Linked DNA regions of Homo sapiens: regions 2, 3 and 4 are each linked to region 1. The links are contacts of gene promoters, found by promoter capture Hi-C in blood cells and fetal thymus (Javierre and others, 2016). All regions are on one chromosome and are shown on one strand. Each heading gives the region's core, a stretch centred on a gene start or on the middle of the fragment in contact. The rest is flanking DNA. Distances are from core to core; before and after follow the strand shown. Region 1 holds the start of CTSZ (cathepsin Z). Region 2 overlaps ZNF831 (zinc finger protein 831). Region 3 overlaps ZNF831 (zinc finger protein 831). Region 4 overlaps LOC101927932 (a long non-coding RNA gene).

Region 1 (7,110 bases), core at 4,209-6,708:
AGGTGCTCAACAAATATTTGCTGACAGCCTAACTTTAGAGGGCAAACAAATTCAATCGGGTAGTCATTGAGTGCCCCTTTGAAAGACTTCCTGGTGAGTTCATGGGTGGGCTGTGTCTGTTACATGCTGTGCTGCACAGGGTGTGTCCCAAAGGTGATACTGATGAGGCTGCCTTCATCAATGTCAGCCCAAGGAGCCACATCCACTCCCAAGCAAGTGTGCACCACCAGTCACTGTGCAACTGTCAGAGGCGTTTGAACCAGAGCGACTCCATCTTGAATACAGACTGGGTAAAATAAGGCTGAGACCTCCTGGGCTGCATTCCTTGGAGGTTAGACATTCTACATCACAGGATGAGATAGGAGGTCGGCACAAGGTACAGGTCACCAAGACCTTGCCAATAGGCCAGGCACGGTGGCTCAGGCCTGTAATACTAGCACTTTGGGAGGCTGAGGCGGGTGGATCGCCTGAGGTCAGGAGTTCAAGACCAGCCTGGCCAACATGGTGAAACCCCGTCTCTACTAAAAAAAGCCAAAAAAGTAGCCACGCATGGTGGCAGGCACCTGTAATCCCAGCTACTCGGGAGGCTAAGGCAGGAGAATCACTTGACCCCAAGAGGCAGAGGTTGCAGTGAGCCAAGATTGTGCCATTGCCCTCCAGCCTGGGTAACAAGAGCGAAACTCTGTCTCAAAAAACAAAAACAAACAAAAAACCTTGCTGATAAAAGGATGTGATAAAGAAGGCAGCCAAAACCCACCAAACCCAAGATGGCGATGAAAGTGACCTCTGGTTGTCCTCAGTGCTGATTATATGATAATTATAATGCATTAGCATGCTAAGAGACACTCCTACCAGCACCATGACAGTTTACAGATGCCACAGCAGCATCAGGAAGTTACCCTGTATGGTCTACAAAGCGGGGGAACCCTCAGTTCCTGGAATTGCCCACCCCTTTCCAAAAAACTCATGAATGATCCACTCCTTGTTCAGTGTATAATGAAGAAGTAACAGTAACTATAAATAGCTGAGCACCCCGTGCTGCCGCTCTGCCTGTGGAGGAGCTATTCTTTTATTCCTTTGCTTTCTTAATAAACTTGCTTTCACTTTATGGACTTTCCCCGAATTCCTTCTTGCGTGAGGTCCAAGAACCCTCTCTTGGGATCTGGGTTGGGATCCCCTTTCCCATAACACAACCAGGCCAGGATGTGATGCATGGTGGTGCTTGGGGACAGTGGCATGGTGGATTGCAAACCTGGCCCGCCCTATCTGAAGGCCTGCACTGCAGAGATATCTGGGTGTTAGCGAGTGCCTCTGACCCGTTGACCAAGTGGATCAAGAGGAACTCCTGTAGCTGGTGAGGGAACCGTCGTGCCCTGCAAAACCAGCCTAGCCTAGCGAGCATTGTCGGCATCCACCCAAACAAATGCCGGTATCCAGGATGTGGCTAAACTCAGGAATGTGGAATAATAGGAAATGTCTGCAGCTTGCCGGGGTGGAAGCCAGACAATATGGCACAAAGGAAGAAGAAAAAGGATTTCGAGGCCATTCCACAGTCGATGAAAACTCATCTGTGTTCTCCTCCTCCAGGTTGGGAAGGTGGGCCAGCCGTGGCCTGAGTGCTGATCTTTATCAGAATGAGGAGAAAAATCAGCCTTATTTTTAGAAATGAATAGGCTTTTGTGTCTGTGGCCTTGGATCATGTGTTTTCCAGGAGAATTCATGGGGTTAAAAAAAAAAAAAAAAAAAGGGACTGGATTGGAACCTGCCACCCAGGAGCCTCGTGCTGAGCACAGGTCACCTGACATCTCCAGAGGCTCAGTCTTTTCGCCAGTAGAATGGAGTAATAGCATCTGCCTCCCAACCCCCACCCCCACCTCACAGCATTGTGCAAAGGATCAAATGCGGCTGCACAGTCCTCTAGAATGTCATTGGCTCAGCCCTCTGCCCTCAAGCACCACTGGGAGCAGGAATGACTCCATTACCTCCAGGAAGGAAAACCCAGGATAGGTGCCAAGCTTTCCAGGCAAAGTGGTTTCAGGGGAGACGCCTTGCTCTAAATACCTACTCAATTCTGCCCCAAGCTGGAAGGCGGTGGCACACAGCTGCTTATAAAGAGCTGCTAGAAGCAATGCTTAGGCAAGTAGGGCCTCAGAGGTAGGAAGGTCCAAGTGCCCTGCCCCAAGCCTCTTCGGATCCCGGCCCAGATGAGAAGAAGAGTCAGTATCCACAAAACCACCTTGCAGGCACCTGCAGCCAAGTCAGGAGGAAACACCTTTCCGGTTTCCAAGAGTCCCCAAGCTGCTCTGCAGGTGAGTCTGCTTTGAAGAGAGAGACACAGCTCTGGGGCTAAACTCAACCCCCAGCAAGCAGTCCCCAGCAAGAAATGGCTGGGGTGGCCTGTCTATCAGGTTCCCAATGTGCTCCCTCCTCTTTTTCCAGTCCCAGACACCTCCTGGTTTTATCTGTGTGCCCTTCAGAGAACTCCTCCAGCTAAACATCCTTCACTAATAGCAGCACTGGAATTTGAGTTTGGGTGGGTTTGTGGCCATCCCCAACCCCGCCCCCACAAGGAACATGTTTAAGATCTTGCATCGAGTTAAGGGAAAAACAAAAACAACCAACAAAAACCCCAAAACCAAGAAAACCAAAAATCCTATTTAGGATCCTCTGCTGCACGATTTTAGTAACCCCCAAAATGACACAGCCCGCCAGCTTCTCGGAGCAGTCTGGCAGCCAGACATGCATCCACTCGACTAGGGCCAGGTTCAGAGATGAGGAGCCCTGTCTCTGCGTGGTTTGCTGTGTTGGACCCATGAGAAGAGGCTGGAGAGATAAGTCTCATCAGGCCCCCTTCCTTCCTTCTTGGCTTGAAAATGATGATTTCAGACCAGGCGCGGTGGCTCACACCTGTAATCCCAGCACTTTGGGAGGCCGAGGCGGCAGGATCACGGGGTCAGAAGCTCGAGACCAGTCTGGCCAACGTAGTGAAACCCTATCTCTACTAAAAATACAAAAACTTAGCCAGGTGTGATGGTGTGTGCCTGTAATCCCAGCTACTCAGGAGGCTGAGGCAGGAGAATTGCGTGAACCCAGGAGGTGGAGGTTGCAGTGAGCCGATATTGCTCCATTGCACTCCAGCCCAGGTGACAGAGCGAGACTCTGTCTCCAAAAAAAAAAAAAGAAAAGAAAAAGTAAATGATGATTTCAAATGGATAGGCTCCCTCCCTCTCTTCCTGCCCTATTCCATCAGATTCTGATCTTGAATTGCTTCTATGTTAGGGAAACCCAGGGGGCACAAGTTGTCAACTTTGGACGTCCTTTTTGTTACCAGCCTAAAAATATCCTTCCCTTTAACCAACTTTCAATAGGGTAAATCCGGAGAGTCTCCTCTTTGGAACTCCCCAGATAAATTAAGCTTTGTGCCAGCATTTGGGAGCAGGACTGTGAATGTTTATTCCCCTTCCTGACCATCTCACCCCTCCTCCTGACCCCTGTTTGTGAGTTTGATTTGCCAGAGGCTCTGGGCTGAAAGCGGGTGATGTACAGGACTTGTGATGGAGCAGGTGTGGTTGCTGTCATCAGACCCAGCTACATAATTTGCAGGGCCCAGGGCACAGTGAACCTGGAGAGCCCCTCGTTCAGCTCTGCATTACACTTCTGGACTTAGGGCCTCATGTGACTGCAGGGGTCGTGTGCCTGCCTTGCTGACCATGCCTGTCATACCTTCTACATGCGCTGGACCTGCTCGGAGAGTCTCGGGGCATCTTCAGAGCACCCCAGCTCTCCCCATGCTACAGGAAAGAAAAGCTTACACCTTGGGTGCCTTTTCACCCAGATTCAGGGACCAGGGCCCAGGACATCACAGCTCAGGCATCAGAGGCCAAGCACAAGGGGCCCTCCCCTCTCCAGGCTTGTTTCTCATGCTGTAGAATGTGCTGTTGGACTTCACAGTACCTGGATCATAACTATGGGTACCTGGAGGGAGGGGCACGATATCTCTTACCACACAATTTTGTGAGTTCTTAGCTTTTTCTTTAGAAGAAGCCAAAAACCGGCCGCTTTGGTAGATGCCACCTGATGACCTGGCAAGGGCAGCTGTGTCTGGGTTTCTTCCTCACAAGGACCCAGCTCCTATAGTCAGGGAGGCCAGAGGGTTGACATGGGAGGAAGAAAGGCCCCCTCTTGGCAATTCTCTTTCCACTCCTTTTATGCCCAGAGGTTGGGAGGCCTCGCTCCCACCCCCACCGCCAGCTCAAGCTTGGGGACTTCTCCCAGGATGGCCACCCCACCCCGCCTTCTGATGACTGATGGACACTAATGGTTTCCATGAGCGACTTGCCAAACAAATAAGAGACACATCAGTAGGTAGAGCCCCGGGGCCACACTTTGCCTCAGTGACCACTTTTTGGGGAACAAGGACTGAAACTTCTGGGCTGACGAAGCAGCTCTCCAGCCTTGCTCTCCACTCGGACAGTCATGCGGGGATTCCATGGCCACCTCAGCGCTTCCGGGAATGGTCATGGAAGCTTCTGGAAGTCAGGAGGCAGCCACTGTGACTTCCCCTTGCCCACGTGGCACGCTTGGAATGTGGTGAGTGCCACTGAGTATGGAGAGAGTCAGGCAAGCTCATCTGTGGGCCCTGTGCCAAGGGCCCCCAGCAGGGGCCTGTCAGGTCGCAGCCCAGAATGCCGGGCCCTGTTCTTACCAGAGAAGAAGGCCATGGTGTGGGCCCAAGGGCCATGACAAACAGAGGGGCCGCAGGGAGCGAGAAGCCCTCCCCCAGTTACAAAACCACGTCCTGGGGGGCCACTTCTGCTTTTGGTTCCTCATTTGACTAAGAAGAGTTTCGTTAGCAGAAAACCTTTTCAAGGCGTCTTTGGAAGTCACATTGGATAACTCCTGATGCCTGCGCCAAGTGGAATCTTCCTTTGGGGCATTTTCTAGAAGGATCCCTCCTTCCTTCTCTGCAAAAGGGAACCGTCCCCCCGAAAGGGCCTGGGCCTTTGGGAAAAGGGGTTTAGAAAGCCAGGCGCGGGGACCCTTCTTTGGGGGCGGTGGCCGCATCCCAGGATCCCTTCCTAGGGGAGGCCTGGGCCCAGATGTGAGGCTGGGGGCCTCTCCCCAGGGCTCAGGGCCCCAGGAATGCAGGGCCAAGGGGGCCCATGAGCCTGCGGCCCCCCACCCCGAAGCCAGGAACCCCGGCAAATGAGTCCAGCCGGACAGTCCCGCGCTCAGGGCGGCGGCCGGCGGCGGGGTCAGGCTGGGGTCTGCCCGGCGACCTCGCGCCTGGCCCGCGAGTTCAGGTGCCCCGGAGCCAGGGAGGGAGCGGGGCGCGGAGCCGGGCGGGGAGGGCAGGGGTCACCGGGCGGGGCAGGAGCAGCGATGGGACAGCCCCGCCCCGGGGGAGTGTCCCGGCCTGGCCGCCGCAGCCTTAAGGGCCGGGCGGGGCAGGGGCCCAAAGTGCGGGGTCGGCCGGGTGCTGGGCCGAGGCCGAGGCCGGGGCGGGATCCAGAGCGGGAGCCGGCGCGGGATCTGGGACTCGGAGCGGGATCCGGAGCGGGACCCAGGAGCCGGCGCGGGGCCATGGCGAGGCGCGGGCCAGGGTGGCGGCCGCTTCTGCTGCTCGTGCTGCTGGCGGGCGCGGCGCAGGGCGGCCTCTACTTCCGCCGGGGACAGACCTGCTACCGGCCTCTGCGGGGGGACGGGCTGGCTCCGCTGGGGCGCAGGTGGGCACCGGCGGGGAGGCAGCCCTGGGGGGACGGGAGGCCCATCGCCCGGGCCAGGCGCGCGCTCTGCCTCCTGGGGGCCCTGCGTCGCCAACAGGCCTTGGAAGGTCAGATCCAGCCGCTTCGTTTTGGGGGTCGCTCCTTCTCTTCCACATCCAGGGTGAGCCCTGATGTTTGTGGGGTTGGACAAGCCCCACCTGGCCAGAAAGCCAGGCCAGCCCCACCTCCTCGGCCTCTGGGGGTGGCCCTTACGGCGCGGCATGGCTGGGGGAGCAACCCGGTTCCCTCCTTTCGGGGGTGCCCTGCCTCCTTCACATTCTGAGAGCGCTGGAGCCTCCTAGTGTGAGGTGGGCCCACACCTGGCTCACCTCTGGTGATTGTGGCCCCACTCCCATGCCCTCAGGTGTTGGGAAAGGCGGGAGGGCCCTACCGAGGGCTTCCTGGGCCCACGGCCCCCGGGAGCCCCAGCACCGATCTGGGTGGGGATGATCTCTTCTCAGCACATACCCCCGGCCTCATGAGTACCTGTCCCCAGCGGATCTGCCCAAGAGCTGGGACTGGCGCAATGTGGATGGTGTCAACTATGCCAGCATCACCCGGAACCAGCACATCCCCCAATACTGCGGCTCCTGCTGGGCCCACGCCAGCACCAGCGCTATGGCGGGTGAGTGGCCGCCCTTTGACTGTGGGCCAGGAAAGCCCATCCCGGCTGCCTGTTTATAGGCCCAGGCAGCTCAGCCCGCGGTTCCAGGGGCCTGTGATTCAAGGCCAGGTCAGCCTGGGCTGGGGTGCTAAGGCCGAGGAGCGCGGGCCTTTGCCCTCTGCTGAGGTGACCCAAGCTGGGTCATTCTGGGGCTTTTGGGTGACAGGCAGGACTAGGACTGAATCCCAGTGACAAGTGGCTGCCAGGTGCCCTCTCTCCCCCAAAGCTTGTGACCTCAGCCATTGGGATAGAAACAGAAATGCAAAATCACTGAGTCCCCAGGCTGTATTTGAGGATACAGAAGTAAACTGCTTCTCAGCACAGATGAAAGCCTGTCCTGGGCTTGGAATATTGGGTGAGGCTAGTTGGCTACAGCCCATGGCCTAACCTGGTCACTACCTCCAGCCTGGTGGGTTTCTATCTTAGGCTTTTGGCAGGAGTAGGGTAGGGAGGCTCTTAGCAAAGAGGAAGGGGAAACTAAGGCCCTCCCTATCAACGAGGCTGCTGCACCCTGCTTTGGGAGAGAAGGCGGGAGAAGGGACAGCTGCAAACCAGCCCCAGGCCCACCCCACAGCATTTGGAAGGGACTCTGCTATCCCCTCTCCAGTCACAGCACAGGGTCCAGGAGCCTGGATTTCCCCTGGAGATGGGACTTGCGTGGCCTGGGAGTTTGGCCCATGA
Region 2 (7,110 bases), core at 1,732-4,231, 210 kb before region 1:
ATGGCTTTTGTCCGTTCCCGGCACGCCAGGTGCCTCCTAGCAAAACCGGAAAGCTGAAAATGACTGAAAATGATCGCTAATGTCTATGTGGAGGGTGGTACAAAAATCACTTGTTCATGTCCTTTGGAAGTTAAGGAAATAAGCAAGCCAAAATTTTAAGAGTTTTAGCAAGGGAAAAACCTTGGAACTGAGCTTGCATTTCTTTTCCTCAACGTATGAACTTGGGCAAGACTCCTAATTAGGACAGGGCTGGCCACACATCACCTCCTGACCCCACGGGGCCATACTGAAAATTAGATGAGGAAAAACATTTGGAGGAAACTCTCAAAATGCTACTGCAGGAAGCAATGGTTGTTTTTGGAGCAGATTCCCCATGCTCCCTGCCAGCAGCCAGCAGTGGGGTGAGGGCCAGTGTGAACTATTTACCTAGAGGACGATGGGGTCCCTACAAGAGCACAGTATTGCCAGGGAGGCCTCTGGGACGAGTTGGAGCTTGGAGGATTATTCCAGTTTCGTCATTTTCTCAACCTGGAGGGCAAGTCTCACCCCGGCAGGAAGAGCACCATAGGCATGCATGTAGCACAAACTCAAGGGCCCAGAATGTACTCCCGAATCCCTACGAGCTCCCTGCTGGGGAAAGTATGGACCTGCACCATTCACTGCCTCCCTCCTTTGGCTTGAAGACGTCTTGTCCAGACCTGGGGGGAAAATTCAGTGTATGCTCACCCCTGCCACCTCCCAGCCATGATAACCACACACTGTAAAGTCCTTTGTAGTTCACACAGCACTTTCACAGTCACTGTCTCATGTAACTTGAGCCTCTCCTCAATCTCAAGGGCAAATGAGTCAGGTATTCCTGGACAGGCTTCATGGGGTTCTTGGGCACCAGATTAAATGAATTATGGACTCAGAAACTCCAGCCCCATTCTACAGATGAGGACCTGAGACAATGAGAAGGAACAAATTTTGCCCAAAGAACTAGTAAAAGTCAAGACTCAAACCAATTCCTCTAAATCCAGAAAGCAAAATTATTTATCCTGTACCAGCCTTGGCCTCAAAGGAGGCTGAGAGAGAAAGGGAAACGTTAGGCTTTCCAAGGTTAATGGAGTAAGGTGGTTGAGGAGACTTTGGAGTGTCTGGCATCAGAAGGAGCAGATTCTTCTTTAAAAAAAACAATAAAAACAGAATTGTGTTCTCAAATTCTAGCTAGATGTTGAGACCTAACCTCTTTCTCTCTGATTAAAAGGGAGGTTAGGAAGGGGTTTAGGCAAGTGTTAAAGATGGAATCAAAACAAGACTTTCTCCATGGCATGATCAAGAGGCTGGAGAGGGAGTTGAGAGGAGAATCACCTTCCCATTATGAGTCAGTGTCACTGAAGGTTTCTCTCTGTAGCCCCTAAAGTTACTTCTCCCCTAGGTTCCACTCACACCTTAGTTAGAATTAATCCTACAGGCTCATCTGCCTCCAAACCAAAAGGGCCTGGCCCCTTGTGAAGACCAGGCAGCAGGTGGGTGTCGGGGAAACAGACCCCGCAAGGCGCACCTGGTGCCTCCGTGATTTTGTTGAGAGTGAGTCTTGCCTTTTGTGTCCCATTTGTAGCCTGTTGAGTTCCATCCCTGAGATCCTCATTTTTCTTCCTGCCTCATCCACTGATTCTATTTGGCTACTGGTTCCAGCACGTTGCATAGGAAAATTCCAGAACAAAACTCAGGATTCATTTGTGGCCCTCTGCTGAGAAGGGGGTCTTCCAACTCAAATATGAGAACGGTTTTCAGAAAGTCTTTCAAAAGCAGAACCGTCCCCATTTCAGGTGTGGGATTGAAGGTATGAGAGTTTCTCTCCCTCCCTCTCCTCTTTTCTCTCTCTCAACTTTTAACATAAACACATATTTATCTTTAAAATGCCCATATTTCAACCTTCTCCTTCAATGACTATATCGTCCTACCCACCCACCTGCCCACTGAACCCATCATTAGTGCACTACCTATTGTTGCCTTCCCACCTTCTGTCGGCACAGACATCAGAATTCTAATCATGGCACTCCGTTTCTACAGGAATCTATTAGTGATTGCTAAGGGAAACACTTAGCATTTTAGATAAATAAGTACATAGTAGTTAAGTGCTCCATTCCCAGCAGTTTAGAGTATATGGCAAAAATTCTTTATGATCGAGGGATGAAAGAAGGCATGATAAAGAGTGACGGCCTTCGGTTCTCCCACATGCCCTGCTGACATTCCTTTCTGCAGTGGGGGGCCGAATGGAGAAGCCTTTGGGGTGAGCGTCGGAAGCATGCCCCACCCCCTGCTATGCTCCTGTTTATGCTAGCACACTCTCCCCTCTCCGCTCCAGCAGGCCTTGTCAGGATCCCTCATTTGGAAGCTTAATCATATCAGCGAGCTCACCGCACTGCATTTGTAATGACTTGTTTACCAGTCTGTGCCGGCTCCCCTTGCCACACTGGGCTCTCCCTAAGGACAAGGGCCATGTCATGTTCTTGTTTGCCTCTCTTCCTGCTCCCACACATTGCCTGGCACAGAACAGGCCCCAGTAATTACCTGGGACCCTCAGGCCACGTGACTCTCATCTGTCTCACAAAGGTGTCTTGGTCCACCAACCGGTTCCTAACCTCCTTGAGGTGAGGGCTCAAGCCATCTTCTGTTCCTCTCCTCTCATGGGGCTTCAAAAGACACTCAGTGGCTCACAAATGCATACCTAATTGCATTAAGCCATGAGTAAGATGGTTTCCCCATGTCTGCATGGAGGAAGAGGGGACATCTGCTGTGATTACTTGCCTGACCCCCACTTCTTTAGGGGGAACCATCTCTCATTTACTCTTTTTATTTTGTATTTTTTATTTTGAGACAGAGTCTCACTCTGTCACCTAGGCTGGAGTGTAGTAGCGCGATCTTGGCTCACTGCAACCTCCACCTCCTGGGTTCAAGCAATTTTCTTACCTCAGCCTCCCAAGTAGCTGGGACTACAGGTGCATGCCACTACACCCGGCTAATTTTTATATTTTTAGTAGAGAGGGGGTTTCACCATGTTGCCCAGGCTGGTCTTGAACTCGTGACCACAGGTGATCTGCCCTCCTTGGCCTCCTCTTAATGGCTGTAGCAAAAAGATGGCCCCAACCCAACCCTCAGTACATGGACAGGTGCAGGACCCATACCTGGCCGCTCAACATCCCCAGTGACAGGGTCAAGGACAGCCACATGACCAAACCAGGCCAGTTAGATTGAGTTTAGGGACTCAGTTATATATATAAAAAAAAAAAACAGTCACGCTAACACAAGCATGGAACAGCTGGGCAGGACCAGAGCTGCCCAGAGATGGAGAGAGACGAACACACCCACCTGCAGAGCCTCTGAACCCAGCTGAGCTTGAAGCAATTCTCTCTGTTCTGTGAGATAATGAATTGGGTTCTGTTTGTTTGTCTAAGCCAATTTGAATCAAGCCTCTTTTCCTCACACCTCAAAGAGTCCCTCCTAATACAGGCATGCAGAGTTTAAAGTTCTGCCTCCAGTAGCAACATTTCAAAATAAGATAACCAGGGAATCTGTTTGGGAATAATAAAAGCTTGAAAAAAGAAACACTGCTCTCATATTGGGAGCCCCAGCTTTGTGAGCCTTCTCATTTTATCCCGGGAGTCTGGACTATGGCCCCAAATCCCACCCTAACCCAGGAAGGGCTGAGAAATTCATCTCTCTGGCTTCTGTTTATAATGAGGAATGATGACTCTGCTCAGCCTCTGCCTAAAGCCTCACATATTACTATTTGCTCTCTCAGGCTCCTGGGAGGCCAGGGCTTCTCTGAGCTTTCTGGGAGGTAGCTGAGTAACACTGGGGCTTGGCAGCCTGCAGATCAACTCATCTCTTTTGCAAATTGCTAACTGGGTCTAATGAATTGGCTGGGCACAGAGGAAGGCCTTGATGTCCTTTGCAGTGACAGAGTCCCCCCAGAGCAGGCTGATCCATCGTGCCTCTGCTGAGGAACACATCTATTAATATTTGGTGAGAATATCAAATTGTGCCCAGTGGACATAACATCTGGTCAAGAGAAACTTACTTCTCTGTGATTTAAAAAAATAAATAAATAAATAAACGAGTCTTATCGTCCCTCCATGTTCTTTTTTTCTACTAGAGAATGCCAGCCTTCCACGGACAGAATGGATAACAGACCCCTAGTGAGAATCAAGGAGGGCTGGAAAGGCCCTCCCATCCACAGGCATAGAAGGTAGCATCTTTTACTCATCCAAGGGGAAAAGAAGAAAAAGTTTTATAAACTGGAGGAAAAGAGAGGTATTTAATATGCTACTGGTAGGGGTATAAACTGGGAAGCAATTTGAAAATGGCTATTAAAAATGTGCAACACAACACTCAAAGACCCAGCAATTTCTCTTCTTGGTTATTCCCTAGAGCAAACCCTGCCTGGGCTAAGGAGATATAAACAGTGTGTCCAAGGAGCATGATGCAAGTGTGAAACACTGGTGATGACCAAACTCTTCGTTAATAGGAGAATGGCTTCATAAATAAGAGTATTCCCACCCAGAGGGACTCTGTCCCTGCTCAGGAAGTTGAGACAGAGCTACATGTTTTCACAGTGTGGAACCACAAAACATTTTTGAGTAAAAAGAGCAAGTTGTGCAATGAGATGTGCAGTGTGCTGCTGCTGTGTTACACACACACACACACACACACACACACACACAGAGATGAAGATCTGTCAGATGTACTCCAGACTCCAAACTGTCATTTTACCTGAGGATGGTATTGGGATGGGGTAGTGGTGAAACTGAACATCAGCCTTATCTATTGCATTTTTATGTGTTAAGTATTATTCATGATTACACGTGTAATTAAAAACTAATAATTAACTTTTTTGCCCCTCTAGGTGGAGCATCACTTTTGCCAAGTTTTTTTTTTTTAAGAACAAAAGTGCCCCACCTGTCAGTGGTCTTCTAATCAGTCACCTCATACCCACTCTATTTACCCCAATTCTTGCTCCACTCTGTGTCTAGAGTGATCTTTAGAAAACCTAAATGGGATTATCTGCATAATCCTGTTGTTCTCAGGAAAAAAATTTCAGGCCCCGACTGAGGCCTGAGAAGTCCTGCAGGTGATGCCCTGTCCTGTGAGCCTCCACTGTACCTGCGCCCGTCCCCCATGCACCTGGCACACTAGCCATCTGTCTATCACGCATTCCATCCTGTGAGCCCCCACTGCACATGTGCCTGTCCCCCACTCACCCTGGCACACTGGCCATCTCTCTATCATGTGTGTACCACTTCCTCCTGGCACAGGCAGCATGCCCACCATGGGCTCCCAATCAGTGTCCCAGAATCTTAGAAATGCAGGGTTTCCGGGAGCCAGAGGTTGCAGTGAGCCGAGATCACGCCACTGCACTCCAGCCTGGGCGACAGAGTGAAACTCCATCTCAGTCAATCAATCAATAAGAAATGCAGGGATTCAGGCTGCCTCCGAAACTCTTGGCAAGTGCCTCTCACCCTAGCCCAGTGAAGCAGAGAAGGGAAGGCTCTTCCAGGAGGGTCTTTGCAGAATGTTGCCCATGGCCTCTGCAGTCAATTCTGCTGAATTGGTTCAGTGGTTTAAATCCATACAGGTCAAAGCCTTACAAAAATTGAGAAAATTCTAGATGAGACAATGCAAGCCAATGAGGATCCTACTGACAGAAAAAAAGGGGGTATGGCTCTCCAAGAGAGGGGCCCAGGGAAGGGTGTGGGGGTTGGTGGTTATTTTAGGTGATTGATAAGCAAAAAGTTAAATAAAACTGAATTGCACAATGATGAAGCTGTTCTCTCTTCTATTCTCTTTTAATCTTCTGATTAAGGAGAGAAGAAAGTCTCGACTAGGTGCTAATGCATCTTGAATGCTTCCCTAACACTTCCAAATCTCTTTTTAGCAGAAGGGGTATTCCTAGGGCTCATGGACTTCAGCTCACAACAGATTCTGGCTAGAACTTATTTACCAAAAACATTGTAGGGTTTATATTTTTGCCATGTTCCCTTAATGGCACATAATATTAACTTTTCATTTTCAGTATCGATAAACAGCTTCTCTTGAAATAATTGGACTTAAGTTTTTTTGTAAGTGCACCTAGGAGAAAAAATAAGTAAAGAATCACATAGGTGACATGTAGATGCAACAAAAGTTCTGAAGGTGGCACCTAGATGATTTCAATTTAGGCCTCAGTGCTGATCCCCAGATCAATCATCTGGGTGCCTCTGGGCAAGTCACTGGACAACTCTCTAAGCCTCAGTTTCTCCATCTGCCAAAAGAGGATAAAAGTCACTCATCACAAGTGTGTCCAAGGGAATAAATGCATATGAGCTTCCTAAATCGAAAGTGCCTCCTGAGTTTAGTTATTGAGAGAGTTTTCTAAAATCTCCATTGGAAATATAGCCCTGAACCTTGCTGTGTTTACTGTTATAAACCATGCCAGCTGCAGGAAATTGCAAAACCATAAACTCAATGTAGTTCTTATCGTTCAATAAAACATCTCCCTCAATCAATAAGACTTCAGATGTGTCATCTGGGCACAGGGCCATGCTCAGCTCCTCTTCACTGTTCCAATTTTAGTCTGTGTACCAGGAGAAGCGGCACGACTTCCAATGTGCCCAGCAAAAGCCCAAATAATTAACCTCAACCACATCAATGTTCTCCATTCAGTTCCGCAAAATGTGTTTCTAAGGAAATATATAAGAGCACTCTTTATACCACGGAATGTTTTAATGTACCCAAGCATTCGAGTAAATAGAACAGGTCTCAGTTAATGGAACTTTTAGCACAGAGGTTTTCAATAATAATAATTTTTTACAAAGCTGATATGTCATCGGCTAGAAAGAGATGTGCAGATAAATATAAAAACAGGGAAAATCTATTTATGAGATTATTTTTTGCAGCCCAAGGGTCAATAACTGTCATATTAGGAGAATGATAATAAGGCTGTATGTTGATGGGCATTAGGATCACAGAGAACAGGATGTCCCAGTTGAAATACAAACAAAATCAATGACGTTGCCTTCATCCCCCTACCTCCCTACATTCTGAATAATAATCATTTCAGATCAGTGACCTCATCAGAAATTGTGT
Region 3 (7,110 bases), core at 3,300-5,799, 200 kb before region 1:
CACCTCCAAAGAGAGCATTACCTGCTATTTCTGAAGAGGTCTGCCCAGGGGTCCTGCATGGCTTCAGTCCCTCAAGTGCGGGAGGGTGGCGGCTTCTTCTTCGCACCCAGGTTGGTGTGCGAAGTCTACTGGCTCTCAGCTGAACACAGCTCTGCAAGAAATTCCCTTTGTACCTGTAGAAGAGAGAAGCATGCTTGCAGTAACCAGCCTGGAGAGCACATGCCTGGAAAAATCTGGAAAGTCACTGTGGGGTGCCCAGGAGAACACGGGGCTCAACCTCTAACTAGCTGGTCAGCTCTGAGCAACTCCTGATCCCTCCATACCTCATCCCCCACCTCCCCAGGATAATGCGCCTAGCTTCAGAGGTTGTTGTAGGAACTAAATGAGGTGGTCACAAAATGCTTCCCAGGATGCTTAGTCATAGCAAGGGCTTAGTCAAGGATAGTTGCTGCAATTAGGTTTTAAGCTACGTGGTCTTGACTACTTGCTTCACAGACTGTCCAACAGTTTATTCTTCAATGATGGAAATGTTCTGTAATCTGCATTGACAAATACAGCAGCCATTAGGCCCATGTAGCTATTGTGCATTTGAAATGTAGTTAGTGTGTCTGAGAAACTGAGTCTTAAATTGTATTTCACTTTAATGAATTTAAATAGCCACGTGTGGCTAGTGACCACTGTACTGGACAGCATTCTTCATAGACCTTCCATCTGGAGGAGCCCTACTGGATCATCTGATTTATTTGTCTTCAAATAAATTTTCTTCAAATAAGATGTATTTGTCTTCAAAACAAAGTATTCACATCTCAGAGGGATGTGATGAGGGTAGAGAAAGAAAAACACTAGAGCTTCTATTTATATTTATTTTCATCTAGTCTTTCTTATTTGTGACCACCATATTGGACAACATTCTTCATAGACCTTCCATCTGGAGGAGCCCTACCAGATCATCTGATTTATTTGTCTTCAACACGAAGTATTTACATCTCAGAGGGAAGGCATGATGACAGTAGAGAAAGAAAAACACTAGAGCTTCTATTTACATTTATTTTCATCTAGTCTTTCTTATTTCTATTGTTTCATGTCCTTTCTTGTTTCTATTGTTTCATGTCATAGAGCAGAATATATGTATAATTTGTAAATGAACAAATACACATTTAATAGGTGCAGGCTACAAATTATTTTACTAATAGGAATGTGCAACCACAAACAGGCCATCAACCTAGTATAGCACCCCCATTATATAGGCAAAAGAATGAGACGAAGAGCCAGGCCTGCAATATGCCTTAAGCTCTTTTAGAAGATCTTTGCACTGCTTCTAACTGCCTGGTCAAGCCACAAGTAATCCCTTCCCTTTACAAGCCTCAGTTTACAATATTTCTACTCCACAGTGCTCCTCAGAACCGGCTATTTTCCTTTCTCATTTATCTGAGCCACCGCCAAGATCCAGCCGCAGTCCCCTAATCACCAGGGCCGCTCACAAAATTTTAAATAAGATCTACAGAATGCAGTATCCTCTTGGGCACTGGTTTTTCCTGGCAGCAACAATGAGAAAGTGACATTTTGTTCATCTTTTCCGGCCTCTGTGTTTGGGAGAAGCTCCCCTCAACTGGGCATGATTGCCTCCCCTGTCTGGGGCAGGAGCTGTCATTCCCCGGCTGGGGGGAGGGGAGGTTAGTTTGGTGGGGGAGGCAGTGGTGGCTGGTTTGTTCTTTGAAGCAGTTGTCAAGAACACAGGTTCCTGAAAGAGCTATCTGAGCCAGGGTGGGGAGCGACAAACCCCTGAACCAAATCCTGCAGGGCCTGGGTGGAGAGAGATTTCAAAGTGCAGAGACAAAGGGAGGAAGGAAGGGGTGGCACATGGAGAGAATTCTTCTTCCACCTGCTGCTGGGTCACCTTTGCGCAAGTCAGTGGGTGGCTGCCACACACTTGCAGGTGTTAAGAACGGCACAGTTTGAACTGCAGGGAGGTTTTACTTTCAGAAAATTAGCAAGCGGGGGTCTTTCTCCTCACGCAAAATAACAAGGAGAGAGCTAGGAAAGGCCCCGCCTCTGAATTCGCACTTCATCAAGGTGGAATTTCAAACTTTTTGCCTTCGAGAACAGCCCAAGTGGACCTTGGCAATGTCTTCAAAGGACTGTTTAGTTTAGTCATGGGCAGGGTACGTTTCTCTCTCTCCTGGTTCTCCCAAAACGTTCTGTGTGCAGCCCCTCCTGGAGAAGCAGCATCCTGGCTTAGGAAGGTTTTGCAAGCTCATCTCCATCACCAGCCATGCAAGTCCCCTCAAGGTGTGGCCAGTGCTGTTGGGGCCCCATCCAGGACACTTTCGTCAGGCTGCACCTCCGCACCCGGCTGTGAGGGTGATACACTCGTCACCCCCTTGCCACCTTTGTCAGGCTCTCTCAGGGAAGGACAGTAGACCCAAGGAGTGGCTCTTGCAGGTGTACACAGCCCACTCCACACACATTCCTTTCTGGGGCGAAACTATGAGATCTGACGTGCTATTTCCCTCACTTTCCTCTCTTGACCCCACAGAGAAGAACAAAGCAAAGAGAAGAGCAGTGGAGGTGTGGATGGCAGAGCCTCTGTATCCTGCTAAGCAGGACCTGGGACTGCTGTCAAAGCTCTGGGGCTGTGGCCAACGTGACAAAGAGTCTCAGCCACATGTGGTGGGGGTCACATGCAGCAGAGGCCACGTGGACTCAGGGCCACATCTGTAGGTCTTTGTCTTTACCTCACTGCAGAGATTGTGCTCTCATTACTGAGAGTGCTATCTCATTGAATAAGTAAATTGTGTGATGACTAAAGTGAATAGACACATGGCTTAGACAGATAAACATCCGCTCCATAAGGAAAAACACTATCTGCTAATAGAATTGCATTCTCAAAGCCCAGGATTTTTTTCTTCTCCACTCTCCCCTTCAACGACTAATGTATATTTTAGGGTTTTATAGAGTGCCCTTCTCCCATACAACCTGCAATCTTCTCCTCGCTCATTTCCATTCACTTGGGGCTTCACAATTCATTGTTCCATTTGTTGGAAGCTTCCTAGGAACAAGTCTCTGAATGTTTCATGCTTCATACAGCACAGTACACAGTTATAAATTAATCAATAAAATCTAATTCCATGATCCCGCGCTTGCTTTGGGCAAGGCAGGGAGGTATTTTGTGAGTGCTCCGGATCTCTATGCCTCTAGTTAATGTCAGGGCAATTAGGCTTCTGAGTATGAATTTTCTGCGTTTTTCCATTTCCACTCTGGAAGTGGATCCTGCATTTTCTAATCTCTCTTCTTTAACTCATGTAGTTTTGTTAATGAAAACAACCATTTTCATTACAGTGTGGTATTTGCAGTTGGCAAAAAACATAGAGATGAATGAAAGCAGAATGAAAGGCCCTGAAAAAAACTTCAAGTATAAACGGGAAGCTAAAATTTAACATGTAAGTGGGCAAAAGTGGATTAATGCAGGGGTCTGCTTGATTTTTATGCAAAGGTCCAGCTAATAAATATTTTAGACTTTGTATGCCACAGACAATCTGTGCCACGTATTCTTCTTCTGTTTTTATATGGATAAGCTTTTAAAAATATAAAAACCAAGCCAGGCATGGTGGTGCATGCCTGTACTCCCAGCTACTCCAGAAGCTGAGGCAGGAAGACCACTGAGGCCAGGAGTGTGAGGCTGTGGTGTGCTATGATCACACCTGTGAATAGCCACTGCCCTGCAGCCTGGGCAACATAGTGAGACCCTGTCGATCAAATATATATGTATATAAATAATGCGTTGCTCATGGTTAAAATAAGTTAAAAACCATATTTAACCCGTGGTCCATAGTTGTCTTTATAAACAAAAATAAAAATAAATCCTTCTATATATATGAATTCATACAAGAAGAAAACATAAGATAACATATCTGCATATTTTTGAAAGTAGGAAATTGAGAGTAAAGAAAGATTTCTTAGATATACCAAAAAGTCATGAAAAGACAGCCCCATTTGACTACATCAAAATTTACAAATTCTTAATGAAAAAACCATCATTATCAAGGTTAAAAAATAAGAACTCCATTTCCAACAGCACAGTGGACTCAATACTCTGACTGATTACCACCAAATTTATCCTTATACTGAAAACAATTAAAAATGCAGCGTAAAATGTAAACATTTTTTAAACTTATATTTAAATTTACGTATGTTCTGATTAAAAGATAAGAAATAGTTCAAAGGCAAAAACCAAGTGAGAGCTGCGCCCTGGAAAAGTGAGATTGCTTTCACTTTGAGGAATCTGCCAAACCAGATGAGGATGACCTTCCTATTTTCATGCTCTGGTGCAGCTGAGGGTACAGGACTCAAAGCCCAGAATGTTCTTCAGTGAGAGGCACATGGAAGACCCAACCTCCTTTCCTGCATAAAGCTGAGACCTCTGAAAGGCATACTCTCAGTATGTGGGTGAATTAGAAATAAATACTCCCTACCCCACCACCTGCCCGGGGAACATAACAACAAACAAACGAGCACCCCCAGGCACCCAGTGGAAGCAAAACAAATATTTATTGGAGGAATCCACCTTCAACCCACATCTCAAAGTTCCAAAAATATCAACTCACAGTCAAAAATTTTAACACAAACAAGGAAATAAGTTAACATATGTGAGAGCAAATATATAAAACAGAGTCAGATGTGCCAAGACTTCATAGGTTGTCATTGTCAGATGCAAAACATTAGATGTGTTTTTTTTTTTAAAAAAAAAAAAAAAGGTTGAAAATAAGAGTCAAGTGCAAGAGACTATAAAATGATCAAGCAAATTAAAAAAATAATTAAATAAAACTTTTTGGAAATAAAATATAATTCACATCAACAATTGAACTTAAACTTTAGCAGACCAATAAAAGTAGGGGAGATCAACTAGGAGGCACTGCAATAGGCCAGGGACTTCTGACCAAGACTTTGCAAAAGTAACCAGATTTACCATCCCAAGTAAAAAACTGAATAAAGATACAAAACAATAGTGTTCAGGGCATTGGACATTGAGCAATAAAGGCAGTGATCCATGAAAGAAGAGAAACAGATGAGGTAAGCCTGATGACACCTCAACTTATTGATGGAGAAATTTTCCAGGTCTGGAACCATTTGTTGAAAAGACTATACTTTTTCCGCTGAATTTCCTTTGAGCCTGTATGAAAAATCAATTGACCACAGCATGGTCTATTTCTGTATTCTCTATTTTGCTCCATTGATCTTTGTATCCATTTTGATGCAAAAACCACACTCTTTGGAATACTTTAGCTTTATAATAAGTCTCAGAGTCAAGCGGCGTAATCAAGTCAGTGTGGTATTTGCATTGAAATAGACAAATAGATCAACAAATGATGCTGGAACAACTAGATAAGATATCCACACACAAAAATAAGAACTTCGATCCATACATCACACCATATGTAAACACTAAGTGAAAATGAATTATAGACCTAAATATAAAACTTAAAAGTATAAAACTTTAGAGAAAAATTTAGAAGAAAAGCTTTGAAGCTCTGTTTAGACACACTTTTTTAAACTATGACACTAAAAACATAACAAAAAAAGGTAAATTAAATATCATCAAAGTGAAAGACAGTTGCTTTTTAAAAGATGCTACTAAAAGAATAGAAAGATAAGCCATAGATTGAAAGAAAATAGTTACAAATCACATCTCCGATAAGGAACTTATAATCAGAGTATATTAAAAAAATTCTCAAAACTCAATAAGAAAACAACCCATTTTTGATGCGCAAAAGATTTGAAGAGACACTTCGCCAGAGAAGATATACAAATGCTAAATAAGCACACAAAAAAAGATGCTGAATATCATCACTTGTTAGGGAAATGCAAATTCAAGCTATAAAGAGATACCACTACATAACTATTCAAATGACTAAAACTAAAAAAAATTACCATACCAAGTGTTGGCAATAATGTAGAGAAATGGAACTCTCATACTCTGATAGTGGAGATGTAAAATAATACAACCACTTTGGAAAACAATTTGGCAGCTTCTTTAAAAGTTAATAATACATCTACCATATGATCCAGGCTTTTCACCTCTAGGTATTTTCCCAAGATAATTTAAAGCATATGTCCATACAAAGGTTTGCATATGAATATTTATAGTCATTTTATTTGTAATAGCCCCAAACTGAAACAAACCAAATGTCTATCAACAAGTGAACATGTATACAAATTGTGACATACTCACTCAATGGCATACTAGTTAGCAATAAGAAGGAATGTGTTCTTGATAAACACAACATGGATGAACCTCAAAATAGTAATACTGAGTGAATAAAGCCAGGCAAAAAAAAGAGAGCATATATTGTATGATTCTGTTTCTATAAAATTCTAGAAAAGGCAAACTATCCTATGTGACAGAAAGCACATCAGCGGTTACCTGGGGATGGAAGGACTTCAGGACGGGCAGAAGGGAGGAATTACAAAAGGATAGGAGGAAACTTTTGGGCTTGACAGATATGTTCATGATCCTGGTTATATTGTTTCACAGGTATATATATATGTCAAAATTTATTTAATTGTATGTTTTAAATATGTGCAATTTATTAAAATTTAATTATACTTTAATAAAGCTTTACAAAAAATAGTAGATTTAAAAACTGGTAAAATTTTAAAGACAGATTTGAACAAAGTATCCAGATTATAGCACAGAGAAACAAGGTTATTAAAAGTATTAAAAGACATGAAAGATAGAAAAGGACTAATATATATTATTTCAGTATTTCAGAAAGGAAGGAGAGGGAACAGGACAGAGGCAATATTTGGAGAATGATGGCTAAGAATTTTTTACAGAGAGACACCAATCCACAAATCAAAATAGCCCTGTGGATTCCTAATGGAACAAATAAAAAGCAACATACATCTATATACATCAAAGTAAAACTATGGAACACCAAAGGATAAAAGAAGATCTTAAAGGTAGCCAGAGATAAAAGACTTTCAAAAGACAGATGAGTAGTCTAACAGCTGGCTTTCTTTACCACAAAATGGAAGCTGACAGATAGTGCAATGGTAGCTTTGATGTGCTGAGAAAATAACAGTCAACCTAGAATTGTGTACCCAGCAAAC
Region 4 (7,110 bases), core at 2,403-4,902, 140 kb after region 1:
GGGGTCACAGTGGAAGAAAGTCAACTCATTGCTTAGAGGGCTGCTAGGCAGCCATAGACTTGGGTTGGGAAAACAGGGTATGGGGCTGGAACTAGAAGTGGGGAGGGGGTGACTGCCCAAATGCTCTCCCCTGTTCCCCCCAATGCCTCTTGTTAGAATGCTACTCTTAGGAACCCCACTATTAAAAATGTGACTCTCTGGGCTTTTGGGCCTCTAAAGCTCTTTATGAAAATGCACATGTCCCTTACGAGTAGCCTCATCAGCCTTTGCCAGCTAATGGGATTAACTGAAGAGAACACAGCCACCTGCAGGGAGGTAAGGAGGCCTGGGGCCAAATCACTTTTCAGATGTGCCATGTGCTCATCCACGATCACCCAGAACACAAAATTCAGGCATTCTTGTTTCGGTGGCAATTTTTAAGAAGCCACAACTTAATAATTCTATAAATCTCAATCATATTCACTATGGAGCAAAGTTCACCTGAGAGTTCTTTCAGTTCAGTCATCCAGACAACCTTCCCTTGTCTTATTTTTAACATAAAAAATAGCTAGCAATCTGTATTACACAGATATTTTCAAAAAAACATAAAGGTCACTATCATATGCTGTGATAGTTACAGAGACCTATCCATAAGACATATTATTTCAAGGGTAATAAATAGATAATTTAAAAGTATTTGTGAAAGGAAAGTTGGAAATTAAATTCTGGAAATTAAAATGTGTTTTTCATTCCACAATGGCTGGAAATTAATTATAGTATTTGAATATAGACTATCTCTATCTGCATTAGGGAACAAAACAAAAGAGACCCAAAGCTCAGGATCTAAGATGGAGGACTGGAACTAAGATAGAGGGCAGGCCAGGAACTAAGATGGAAGGCAGGCCAGCAGCAAAGATAGAGGGCAGGCCAGGAGCAAAGATAGAAGGCAGGCCAGGAGCTAAGATGGAGGGCAGGCCAGGAGCTAAGATAGAAGGCAGGCCAGAAGCTAAGATGGAGGGCAGGCCAGGAGCTAAGATGTAAGGCTAGAGCTAAGACGGGGGCCAGCCCAAGAGCTAAGATGGAGGGTTGGAGCTAAGATGGAGGATGAAAGCACTAAGGTGAAAGCACTCTGTAGTACATAAGGATCTGGCTGCAAACTACACTTTCCCATCTAACTCTCAAAACACTAATCCTAGACATAGAAGATTTCTAAGGTTAGGTGGGAAATATTGGGCCCATCTTCCTAAGAGAATTTTAGTCTTGAAAGATCCTGGAAGGCATAGTTTGGCTCCAGAGAGTGCACAATGAAAGAAAGAAGTTGGCAAAAGGCAGTTCTCAGCACCACTCTTGGGCCAGGCCTCTGCAGCCCCTCCTGGAAGCAAGACTGCCTCCTCAGCATGGCCAGTAACCCTCTGGGCTGTGCCTCCTGGAGAAAGGCCTCATTCAGTCCCATGACTGACAAGTTATCAACAGGGAGGTCTACCCTATCAACAGGGAGGTCTATCCTGTGACTAGCAAAGGTTCAGTCACTGCTGTTTGTGCAGAAATTTTCAGCCTCAGAGTGGCATGAAAATCTGAATGGCTGTGCCTGTCAAATGTTGCTTGTTTTGACCCCAGCAGATCCTTCTAGGTTTTCTGCAGTTTAATTATCAGCACTCATGACACTTTTAGGTAACCTCTGATTTGGTGTGCTCAACTGGGCTGGAAGACTCTTAGCAGGTTGTTGAAGTCTTTTGGTTGACAATCTTTCCATCTTTCCTTATTTATTCCCTGTGTAATCGCTTAGCAGAGACTGCCCACTCTTGTTAACTTCCTGGGTTTGTTTTGATTCCATCAAGGGAGTAGCAGTGTCTCATACTTTTGTCTTCCCCACGGGGAAGGGCACATATTTGGCACTCAATACATGTATATCGAATGAATGAACAAATGAAAATGCCCGAATTGAGGCAAACTCACCGACCAGGCAAGGATTCGTCCTTCTAAGGGGCGTGGCAGACACGTGAGCAGCTACTGCAAGCTTAGAGATGCTACTAGACAGACAAAAAGGAGTAAGGCTATTTCGACCTTCAAGTTAACCAAAAAATTAGGAAATAACTTATCAGTGAGAAAAAATGGGTACATGTGCTAGTCCCTGTGTACCAAGGACTGGGCAGGATTCCATGCTTTTGCCAAGTTGGACATAACCTACAGATGAGTAAACCTCAGACCTGCCAATAGTCAAACATTTGAAAAATTAATTTGTGACAACTGTTTTCACTTGGAACCATGATGGATTTAACTGTTTTCTTAAATTAGGCATGTCATTTTATGCTAAATTTCCACTAAACATTTCCCAACAACATTTCTTTCTTCCTGAAGAACCACCGTGACCCCTAACTCCCTGACAATTCCAAAATGTCACAGAAGGCCCATTTTATAAACATATTTGTGAATGAGTTCCTTTTCATAGCTATTAGATCAGCAATTATTTTCCCCAACACTGGCCCCTAATCAGCCATTTTGCTAAGTCTCAAAGCAACACAAATTTAGCTCAAATCAATTAGCAACACATTTCTAACTCTTGGTGCTTGGGGAGAGTCTGAACTCCTCCTGATGGGATGAGGCTAACGCCTTGAGAATGAACTGAGAGGCAGGTCAGCCCAGGAAGCCACTTCTGCCTTTGTGGTTGTGCTTTACAAGAAGGCCAAAATGTGGGAGAATGGGGTCCAACCACAACAAATTAGGATGAAATTTTGATTTTATTTTTTTTCTCTTGAGCTGATGAATGAAGCCCAGGACATAGAAAGGCAGCTGACGGAATATTTTCCCCACCAATGCCAGGAAGCTGAAGGTCTGCTCTTGTGATTTGCATCTGGCTGTGATGTTCTCTCTCTGCCCCCCACCCTCACCCCAGCACAGAGCAATCAACCTTGTCCCTGTTCTCCTCTGGCTGAATTCCCCCCTTTTCTCTTCCCCTCACCTTTCCTTGCTGAACAGAATTGTCTTCCCTCTCTAATGAACATAACCCAAGAGAATAAAACTTGTTTTTCAAAGTGGGGAGGGGGAATGGGAGGAAGAAAGGAAGGAAGGGAGGAAGGAAGGAAAAAGAAAAAAAGAAAACAATGCCTACAGTGGGTCTGGCTGGAACCCAATTCTCAAGGACATCGATTTGTAAAATTCAAAGGTTTCCCCAACATCAAAGATCTATACTTAACTTATAGGATGCTCACTTTTAACCTTAGGGTTTGCTTTGTTTTGTTCTGGATAATTATCAAATTTAAAAATTTATGATTTTTTTTTTTAAAGAACTAGAAGGTTCTCTGTGTGCCAGACTTTCTAAAACAAAACAAAACCACTTAGTGGGATAAGGCATGTGAAAACACTTGTGCTCCATGAAGTGTGCTACATGCAGTGTGTTCCTAACTTTAAAATAAAACAAAAATTGGACCATCGTTTTAGAATCAGGAGGTAAACACTTGGGAAAGCAATAAGAGGTGAGAGGGCAGTGGTCAGAGCTCAGAGGGTGGTGGTGGCCCCCGTCTTGGCACACAAGAGAGGCCTCTGTCCCAGCTCTTCTGGTTGGCACTTGAACGAACAAGGGACCTCATGGGGCAGTGAGATGGGGAGGAGAGGATGCCCCAGCCTGGATTGTGAACCTGCCTCTCCTCCCCGTACTCCTGTCCGGTCTAGCCAGCCTGGCCCCTCAGCTGTGCCAGCCACACCCTCCTTGGCAGCGCTCCACCCCCTGCCTGGTAGAAGGATAATCACTTGCAACCTGATCCTCTCCTCTGTTCTGGACTAGAAGTTCCTAGAGGGCAAGGACCCCATTTGGTGCTTAGAGCTAAACTTGGCAAAGGCACTCTTTTCTTTTTTCTTTTCTTCTCTTTTTTCTTTTCCTTTCTTTTCTTTTCTCCCCCTCCCTCCTCCCTCCCTTCCTTCTTCCTTCCTTCTCTCTTTCCTTTCCCTCTTTTTTCCTCCTCTCTCTCCCTTTTAATTTTTTTGGTTTTTTTTTTGTTGTTTGTTTTTTTTTTTTTTTTCGACGGAGTATCATTCTTGTTGCCCAGGATGGAGTGCAATGGCACAATCTCGGCTCACTGCAAACCCTGCCTCCCGGGTTCAAGCGATTCTCCTGTCTCAGCCTCCCGAGTAGCTAGAATTACAGGCATGCGCCACCATGCCCAGCTAATTTTGTATTTTTAGTAGAGATGATGTTTCTCCATGTTAGTCAGGCTGGTCTTGAACTCCTGACCTCAGGTGATCTGCCCACCTCGGCCTCCCAAAGTGCTGGGATTACAGGCGTGAACCACTGCTCCCTTTCAAATTTTTAAATTTAATCTCTATTTACTTCTTTCCTTCCGTTTGCACCTTAATTTCTCTTTGTCTCTCTCTTTCAACAATAAACAACTGGCCAAAGGGAATTGGTTTTAATTTCTGAGTCGTTCACAAGGACCCCGGGATTTCAAAAGATCAGAGAAGGAAAAACAAAGGGAGGGAACCTCAATTCTTTCCCTGCTCTTCCCCGCTAGCGAAAGGACTGAACAAGTGAAAGAACTGTGGAAGGACGATGGCGAACATGGAAGAGCTCTAAGGAAACTGTCCTGTAGTGTGTGTTTGTGGAGCAGGGGGATTAATATGAAACTGCACACCATGATTCATGCCCTCTCAAAACTATGCATACACCTGAGTAAAGAACAGGGGGAGATAATGATCAGTAAAATCACAGCAGGGTGAGGGTAGGCTGGGGGGATTTCCTGTAATATTATGATGTCATTTTAACAATAAATACAACTAGAAGAAAAGGCGCCCGGCCAAGTGTGGGATGTGGGTTCCATGTCATGTGGGAAGCGAAAGTGGGCAGTTGGGCCCCAGAAGGGAGAGTTCTAAGAGGGTGTGGTTCCCTCTAAGGGAGGGATTTGTGCGTCTGGCGCAGGGAGAAGACTGACCAAGAAAGCCACCAAATAAACAGACCAAACCCCCAACCACCCCTCCCCTGAGAAAAGCACAGAATGGCTGTATTGGTGTTAAAAGTAAGGTCCCCGGGACCCAAGACAGGATGAGAGCCCCAACCAAAACACCCTGGAAACATGGGGCTTTTTTTCCATTTGGGCATCCTACATTTCATCTAGAGAATTCCAAGATCCCAATTTCTGAGAGCAGACCCAGCCATTCTGAGCTCTCTGCTGACCTCTGGTGGGGAGGAGCTCCCATGGCCCAGGAAAGGTTGGAAAGAGGCAGCCACCTGCCCTGGCCTCCTCTGTTCCCCACGGTCTACAGGGTCACCTGCCCTCAGCCACCACTCAGGGCTAGAAGTCAGGGACTGTGAGGAGGAGAAAGTGCAAGAAAAGCTTTAAAGAATCCTCAGAGGAATATGGGCATAAGAGAATCATGTTGTAGGAAAGTTATCAAGTAAAAGAAAATTTTTTAAATAGATGGGTGGGAGGGACGTTTACCTTAAATCAACCCTGTGTATTCAGTTTCTTTAACTTTACAATCTTAAGAGAGAGGGGAGAAAGAATGTGTATATGAATGGGGTATGGAGGGTAAATTTGATCAGAAAGAAATAAATTCCCATTGGAGGACTTTGTAGGTCCTTGTGTGGGAGGCCTGTGTGGCCCTTCTCAAATAGATGACCTCATCATTTTCCAGCTGCTGGGTGGGGTGGTGCAGGGGGCAGAAATGGAAGGGAATGGCAACGGTACCTGTTCTTGGAACCAAGGAATTTGACCCAGACACCATCGGACCCAGCTTCCCCTCCCGTGGAAACGAGGCCTAAAGAAGCCAGAAGTGGCCTGCCCCAAGGCAGTGCTGAGCCTGAGATGGACAGTAGGGGTCCCATCCTTAGAGAGGACACCTTCGCTAGTGAGAATGCCCCAGTGTGCCGTGAAGCACTGAGAAGTGGAGAGGGGTTGAGGAGGGGAAGAACTTAAAACTAGCCCTGAGGTCTCAGAGATCCTGAAAAACACAATGATACTTGCATGAATGGAAAAGCAATGATGTATCCCTAGCAAGTCCCTTCTCTGTAAACAATCATTGACCATGCACCTCAAATTCTACTTCATCTCTCCATATTGTCTTAAATGCTAACTTCTCCAGGTAGGCCCCTTAGATTTCCCTGGTGGAAACTGGAGCTCTGCTCACCTATGAACCTCTTTTCTAGCCCTTGATTGAGGTGTGAAAGAGTTTACCACCAAACTCTGCTCCCACAAAGATTCTCCCGGTGATTGGGACCCAGAAACTATTAATTATTTACCAAAGGACAACAGAGGGCCCTACCATTTGATTTCCTATACAATCTGCCATTTTGGAACAGACATTTAAAAAAATTTGTGTTGGATAGGGGGTTGGCATACCTCATCTATTGAAACTTTATAAGATAATTAAATAAGTTTTAAAGTGAGAAAGACATCCCTCCTGTTTTTTCAATTGAGAAAAACTAGAACCAGGGATTTGTCCAAGATCTCAGGACCAGTTCCCAGGAGAACCGGGGCACCAGGGCGGTGAATCTGGAGGTTACCTGATCGTGTGCTTTCCTGCCTTGGCTAAGATCTTCAGATCCACTCGTTAAAAGTTGCCGGGATTTGTCCTTAGATGTCAATTGCTCAACTGAAACCTTTTAAAAACATTCCTCAGCCTTAGGGGCAGGGGCCGTGTCCTTGGGAAGGAGGATTTAGGGAGGGGGATGCGGGTTCTGCCTTAGGCGCCGGCGCAAGGGTGAATTTTTGAAAGCCAGGCTGTCAATCGTAAAAGCCGAGCGCCATCTGCCAGCCGGTTCTGAGTAGCCTTGCTTTCTTTCATTGTTTCCACTTCCCAGCCCTGAATAATTTGTGTTCTCATTTATTTCCCTCCAAAAAAAAGGTAGTTCCTGCTCAGAAAGTCCCCCCAAAATAAGAACCCCATTTAAAAATAAATCTTAGAAGAGAGTGAGAGAGCGAGAAAACAAAGGAAAAGTGAGAAAGAAATTCGAGAACTCCTTAGGAGGCTGCTTTCCGTTCTCCCCTTTCTGGATTGTGAAACTTCTGAGAAAATGAGAGATGAGCCCCCTTTCTTCAACTAAGGCAGCCCTAATGGTCTTGCTTCTTCTTTCTGACCTCTCACCTTCTTGTGGCGAGCAGATGCCCCACTTTGAGCCTGCCTTAACATCTGAAATCAGAC

Evidence for each region. Contacts are between HindIII fragments. The CHiCAGO score rates a contact against its expected background, and 5 or more counts as called.
Region 2: a contact is called between a fragment that was not itself captured here and the fragment with the promoter of CTSZ in region 1, in 1 of 17 cell types (non-activated CD4 T cells). The highest score is 5.5, in non-activated CD4 T cells.
Region 3: a fragment that was not itself captured here is called in contact with the fragment with the promoter of CTSZ in region 1 in 1 of 17 cell types (total B cells); the score reaches 5.4 in total B cells.
Region 4: a contact is called between a fragment that was not itself captured here and the fragment with the promoter of CTSZ in region 1, in 4 of 17 cell types (total B cells, M0 macrophages, activated CD4 T cells and 1 more). The highest score is 7.0, in total B cells.

Annotation. Positions count from the first base shown.
Region 1 is chr20:59,005,602-59,012,711 of GRCh38, reverse strand. CTSZ (cathepsin Z) reads left to right here and starts at 5,458. Exons shown (of 6, transcript NM_001336.4): 1 at 5,458-5,726; 2 at 6,227-6,390. The coding sequence starts at 5,584. RefSeq lists enhancers at 4,205-4,284, 4,425-4,534, 4,555-4,714, 5,395-6,206 and a silencer at 5,175-5,774. The HindIII fragment of the contact is 2,129 bases long and covers 4,529-6,657 here.
Region 2 is chr20:59,214,762-59,221,871 of GRCh38, reverse strand. The region is part of intron 4 of ZNF831 (zinc finger protein 831); the gene reads right to left. Among named protein-coding and RNA genes, the nearest start is that of ZNF831, 54 kb to the right of the region's middle. The HindIII fragment of the contact is 1,197 bases long and covers 2,383-3,579 here.
Region 3 is chr20:59,199,968-59,207,077 of GRCh38, reverse strand. ZNF831 (zinc finger protein 831) reads right to left here. Exons shown (of 6, transcript NM_178457.3): 4 at 22-173. Among named protein-coding and RNA genes, the nearest start is that of ZNF831, 40 kb to the right of the region's middle. The HindIII fragment of the contact is 1,943 bases long and covers 3,578-5,520 here.
Region 4 is chr20:58,868,499-58,875,608 of GRCh38, reverse strand. The region is part of intron 3 of LOC101927932 (a long non-coding RNA gene); the gene reads left to right. It also overlaps a transcript of GNAS not described here. Among named protein-coding and RNA genes, the nearest start is that of GNAS, 19 kb to the left of the region's middle. The HindIII fragment of the contact is 3,307 bases long and covers 1,999-5,305 here.